Regions from separate parts of the Homo sapiens genome. Here region 2 is linked to region 1. Evidence: promoter capture Hi-C in human tissues and cell types (Jung and others, 2019). All regions are on one chromosome and are shown on one strand. Each heading gives the region's core, a stretch centred on a gene start or on the middle of the fragment in contact. The rest is flanking DNA. Distances are from core to core; before and after follow the strand shown.

The links. Contacts are between HindIII fragments. The study calls those that stand out against the background at their distance.
Region 2: a contact is called between a fragment that was not itself captured here and the fragment with the promoter of OTUD4 in region 1, in 1 of the 25 tissues and cell types used here (heart left ventricle).

Annotation. Positions count from the first base shown.
Region 1 is chr4:145,178,992-145,181,959 of GRCh38, reverse strand. It overlaps OTUD4 (OTU deubiquitinase 4), which reads left to right and starts at 1,371. Exons shown (of 21, transcript NM_001366057.1): 1 at 1,371-2,145. The coding sequence starts at 1,987. RefSeq lists silencers at 965-1,364, 1,455-1,684, 1,805-2,264 and enhancers at 610-1,439, 1,440-2,269. The HindIII fragment of the contact is 5,371 bases long and covers 1-2,968 here.
Region 2 is chr4:146,337,038-146,340,189 of GRCh38, reverse strand. The region is part of intron 5 of SLC10A7 (solute carrier family 10 member 7); the gene reads left to right. Among named protein-coding and RNA genes, the nearest start is that of MIR7849, 70 kb to the left of the region's middle. The HindIII fragment of the contact is 6,347 bases long and covers 1-3,152 here.

The DNA.
Region 1 (2,968 bases), core at 122-2,621:
ACGGGGTTTCTCCATGTTGGTCAGGCTGGTCTCGAACTCCTGACCTCAGGTGACCGGGCTGCCTCGGCCTCCCAAAGTGCTGGGATTACAGGCGTGAGCCACCACGCCCAGCTGAAACTATACTTTTCTAAACCTGATTTCAAAGTGTTTCTTCGCTACAACAAGTAAATTTGAGGCAGGGACATTTTTTCATTTAGGTAACGATAACGTTTGTATTCTCTAAAAGCAGCATAATTTGAGATACAATATTTAAACATTAAGAAATCAAAGACGCTCCAAGGAAAGTGAATACATGACTGATTGCTTGCACTGAAAATACTGAAAAGTGTCTAACGTAGTTTTTAAAAAATTTTTGTCGTTGGACTCTCACCACCTGGCCTGCCTTGCCCCCCATTCCAAGGTATTTGACTACATGTCTAAACCTATAGTAATGCTCCCTTTTCTTCTCCCTCTCCTCCACCATAGCCTAAAAGACTGAATTAGTTCCTATGATTAACCATGTATTTAAATAAGGACACCAGATGTTGTATCTTAGCAAAATAAAATTTTGGTGCAACAGAAGCATGCTGGATAAATTCTGGGTTCTAAAGCATAATTTAACTTTGTCAATTCCCTGCCATTCAACGTCGGAGGGTGGGAAGTTGAGCTGAAGCCTCGAGCACTGGTGGAAGCCATGGCCAGTCCAGTCAGCATGTTATCAAGCAATTTACAAGATGAATTTTTTAAGGGGGAAAAAAAAACCCTAACGTCTTCCGACAGTGACATGTCTCTGTGATGGGGTGCTCAGCTACAGTGACAGGGTGAACAAAAATGTCTTTGGCAAAGCCTTCATCTTGCCGTAGTACGTGAGCTGTACTACTAATAGCAATCAGCAGTCCACGGTTGATTTATGGACAGAGTGTGTCGTCCCGCACCGTGCCAGTTCCCGGAGCCTCAGCCAATTAGCTCTATTTTCTGCTTAAGCCGTTAAAGCCACCTCCATGGAAACACCAGGAGAGCAGGCCGGGGGGAAGGGAGCAGACAGGTGCGCCCTCTGGAAAGAAATACACAAAGGGCCGACACTGCGCCGCCGTGTCCCTGGCAACTCCACGCCAGCCCGGCGCGCGCGATTCCCGCGGCGCAGCGGCAGGGTTGGCGGGTGGCGCGCGCAGGTCGCCCCACATCGGCCGGCGGAGCCCCTCGGCCTGCTCGCGGACGCGGCGCCAGTGCAGCGCGAAGCCGGCTTGGGGCGGTGGCGGTGGCGGCGGCGCGCCCGCGCTGTAGGGACTTGTAGTCCGCGCGCCTCCCGGGCACCTCCCCCGGGTAGGCCGGCCAGCGCGTCCCCGCCCGCCGCAAGCCGACTTCCTGCGGCTGCCAAGACTACATCTCCCGCCGTCCTCTCCGCTGTCGGGCCGAAAGCGAAAACAAATTCTGGGCTGCGAGGTGCTGTTCTCTCCCGGGCGCCCCCACCCGCTCCCTGCCCCTCCGGCGCCCTCCAGCGAGGTGGGGAAACGAAAGGCCGCGTCTTTCTTTTTGGTTTCCTCGGCTCCCGGCGTGGGGAGTGCGCGGGGGCGCAGGCCCCGCTTCACCTGAGCCGGCCCAGCGTGCGCGCCAGGGGCGGGGGTTTTCTCGCTTCACACCGGTACGGAGGAGGAAACTTGTGGGGGCGGCGACCCCCGGCCTGGGTCCTGAGTCAGGCAGCGAGGCCGTCGGGAAGTGACTACTCACTCTCGGGGTTTTCCTTAATCCCGCTCCCCCCGTTTGTCGTGGGCGCGTGTTCGCTCCGAGGAGGCGGCCGCGTGCGGACAGCCATGCATTAGGCAGGGCTTCCCTATGCGCCCGGAGAGCGCGGACCGCTGCCTCGGGCCGCCGCCGCCTGCCGCCGCTCGCGGAGCCCGAGCCCCAGCCCGAGCCGCCGCCTGCCCCAGGCCGGGGCGTCGAGCAGCCGGCGGCCTGGCCATGTGGGGCTAGCCCTCGCCGCGCCTGGCCTGCAGCAGGACCAGCAACATGGAGGCTGCCGTCGGCGTCCCCGACGGCGGGGACCAGGGCGGCGCGGGGCCCCGCGAGGACGCGACGCCCATGGACGCCTATCTGCGGAAACTGGGCTTGTATCGGAAACTGGTCGCCAAGGACGGGTCGTGCCTGTTCCGGGCCGTGGCGGAGCAGGTAATTGCGGGGGGGCGGGGAGGGCTTCGAGGGGAGGCGGGGACGGCCCGGCGGGTCTGGGTGGGGAGGCAGCTGCGGGCTGTCCGGGCCGCCCACGGCCGGGGCTGCGCGTGCCCTGGCTGTCGTCACAGCGCCCCATTGTAACGCCGGAGTGGGACGCTGCTTTGCGTCTGAAAGGTGCAAATTGAAACTCGAAAGCCCGCAAATTAACGGGGTGTCTCTCTCCTGATGAAGAGGTAATGAGTTGAGGACAACTTGTGAGGCCTGCTCGGAGCTTGTACAGTTGATTTATTGCTGGGGACCTGGCGACATGATATTTTTTACTTTTGTTCCGCATTCACCTTCCTTCCCTTCGTTTGAGAAGCACCACGCTCACCCCACTCCAGTAAACCAAGTGTTTACTAGAAGTGGTGGATCAAACTTTACTTGTGGAACATATTTTGGTTTGCTGCTGGACTTTGGAATGTAGGGTAGGCAAGCTCGCCCATGTCACTTGAATCAAATGGGCAAACTGCCGTTTGAGAAAACCAGCCTTTTACAAATATAGAATATTTTGAAGGATTTGTCTTGAGTAGGTTCCACCCTTTATTATGCTCTGCTGGGCTGTGTAGGTATACTAAACAGAACTGACTTTTTTAAAAAAGCCTGTTTTGATGTTGGTAGTAGAAAGGGTACGTGTAACTGGAGCTTTTCAAAACCATTTTCTAACACAGTTGCTCAGGAAGATTTTTCTGAATTTTTTTTTTTGAGCGAGCTTATTCCATGTTATATAACACTGTGTGTTGTAGGTGTGCAGTCACCAAAACCCATCCTATATTGAAAA
Region 2 (3,152 bases), core at 618-3,117, 1.2 Mb before region 1:
GGATGCATCTCTAGGTTGTTAAGACCCCAATCACACATATATGTTTTTCTTCTCCTACCCCCTGATATTTAATAAAAATAAACATATTATTAAGGAGAAACCTGTTTAAAATTGGTGTCATTGGTGAGAGGTAGATAGGGAAAGAAGCAACTACTGATATTTAATAAAAATAAACATGTTATCACACACCGGGACCTGTCGGGGTGGGGGACAAGGGGAGGGAGAGCATTAGGACAAATATCTAATGCATGCGGAGCTTAAAACCTAGATGATGGGTTGATAGGTGCAGCAGACCACCATGACACATGTATACCTATGTAACAAACCTGCACATCCCGCACATGTATCCTGGAACTTAAAGTAAAATTAAAAAAAAAAAAACGACAAATGAAACTATAAAAAGGCAGGAAAACATGTCAGTAGAAGTGAGGATATGAGAAAAAATAAATGCCTTATCTGGTAGATTAGGCTTGGAGAAAAAATAATAAATAAACATGTTATTAGGGAGAAACCTGTTTAAAATTGGTGTCAATGGTGAGAGGTAGATAGGGAAGGAAGCAACTGCATACCCAGATCCTACTGCCTCTTTGTGTTGGGGGTGGCAGGAGGATCTGTGGACCAATGATGCTCATGTGAGGTGCAAACCTTTCTTAGGACCATTGGTTAATCCACCTCCTTCTCCTGACTGAAGCCTCTCTGAGTCACAAAGTTCAGAGCTGGTTTTCTAAGCTGCAGGAATGGCTCTGGCTAAGGAATATTATAAAAACCAGAGTAAATCAGACCATTGAAATATGAAACAAGGCAAGTGTAGTGCAGATGTCTCCATTCATTGTGTCCATCTTATACTCAGTATTGATCGTCACAGCTAGATCTAACAGCAGTGTGTGCCATCATTTAGACACGTCCAAAAGGAATAGATGAGCTATGCCAAACCTATTCATTTCACATGTGTAGACATGGTCTGGGTTTTTTGTTTGTTTATGTTAAAGTTCTGTTATAAATCTGAATAGTGATTTTGATTAAACCATTATTTTGAGTGTCTTATATAAAAGAGAATCAGTTTTTGATTATTTTAGAAGTTTATTTTAACATCCAGGAGCCTACATAAGAAGCCCCTTCCCCAAATCTCCCTCAAGTCACTTTCCATTGCCTCCTTTCTCTGTCCTCATTGAACTTCATACTATCCCCCTCCTCCATATTCCACGTCTCTGCCTTGCTTTTTCAAAAATGTTCTCCCATAGTCTTGTTGGTAATTCATGGGCCTTTTAGGGTAGGGATGAAAGTGCCTATTTCAAGATTTAATCTCTTTTAAAAACCTTCCTCTAATCTGTTCTAATTTTATCATCTATGTGTTTTTGTTTTGTTTTGTTTTGTTGCTTTATATGTATGGTAAATAATATAGTGCTGAGTAACTGCTTTCAGATCTTCCATATGTGAGCTTTGTTCTACTCAAGTGGTTTGTAGGAGGCAGTGTGGTATCAGAAATAAAGAACTGGGCAGGGAATTTGAGACACTAAAATGCTACTCCTTGTGTTTCCACTAACTCTGCACCCAAGAGTGAGAGACATTGCCTCCTTGGGCATCAACTTTTCAGTTTGTAAAGTGAGGTAACACATTATCCCTAATGTCTCTTTCAGCTAGAATTCTTTGATTTCTCTAAATTCTTAAAGAACTCCTATCCAGTATATCAACACAATGGTAGAGATCTTGGATTCTGGAACCAGACTGCATGACTTGCTTCCCATTCTGCCACTTACTGCTTGGGAATTCTGAACAATTCCTTGTCTATGTACCTCAATTTTCTCCTCTGTAAAATGAGAATTGTAGTGGCAGCTTTCTCATAGGTTTGTTGTGAGGACCAAATGAGTTAGTAAATATAAAGAGCATAGAACAGTTGCTGACATATACACAGTAGGCATTCAATAAATGTCAACTAGTCTCATTATTATTACAAACACAAGGGTTTTAAAACATTTCAGAAAGTGTGTGTGTTTCTTATCAAATGGATATGCTGCTCCATGAGAGAAACATTTGTGGACACACATTCATCTATTCATTTGTTCTTTCATTCAGCAAAAAAAATTATTGCATGCCTAATATTTGCCAGGCACTGTTGTGTTACAGACATCAATGAGCAGAATGGCAGATACACATTAAATCTTTTAAACCAGTGGGAAAAAACATCCATGTTACTCTAGTGACCTAAGAGAGTTACTTAGTGCCTTATTTTCATGTATTCCAACACCAGTGGCAAGTTATATATGTAATCGTTGACTCTAATTTTAATTAATATTATATATTTTACATTAATTTTCTACAATCTGTTTCTTAAATATCTTTTTCTTTTAAATTTTCTGCTTCCTCCTTTGCACATTTTTTTCTTTTTAACAACTCAGACCATCTCCTGATCTCTCAACTTTGTTTTTATTCCTTTTGTTGAGTTCTATCTTCTGACACTTCCTTAGGTTAGTCTCTATAAGCCTCTTTTCTATTCTCACCTATAAAATTAGGATAATCAATTTACTTACCAGAATTTTAAATTAGATAATGTTTGTAATGTACTTAGCACAGTTCCTAGTACATAATATACCTCAATAAATATTGGCTATTTTTATGATGGTGGTGTTTTATATCAACTGAACCATGATTCTAAAGCAAGAAATACTACAAGCTCCTATGTATAATATTCAGGCCATAGGAACTTTGGCTGACCATTGGATAATGTGAAATGATCCTCTTGACATTTTAAGAGAGCTGTGTATCTTGTGTGTAATGTTTGCAGTGCTACTAATAATTGGCTGCTCCATGTGTTCTCAGGGAAAATAAAACTGCAACCTCAGATTGTAGCTGTGTGCCCATGGTGGAGGCATGCAGGCCAAAGTGAGCTCTGTTAGGTCTTACTTTCACTGTGAAAGCTTATGTCTTTATACTCTAGTCTTCAAAAAATAAATTTTGATTTAGTTTCCTTTTGCTTCCTCCTTGGTCTAATATATACTCTGCAAATAAGCATTTTTAAGAAACTTCTTTAGAAAATTATTTATTGCCTGTTAAATCTAAAACTTAGAAGATGTTTACATGAAAATCTTTTGGAAAATGATAGAAAGTTCCCACATCTCTGTTGCCCTGGGCTCTAATTAAATTTCAAATTGTTT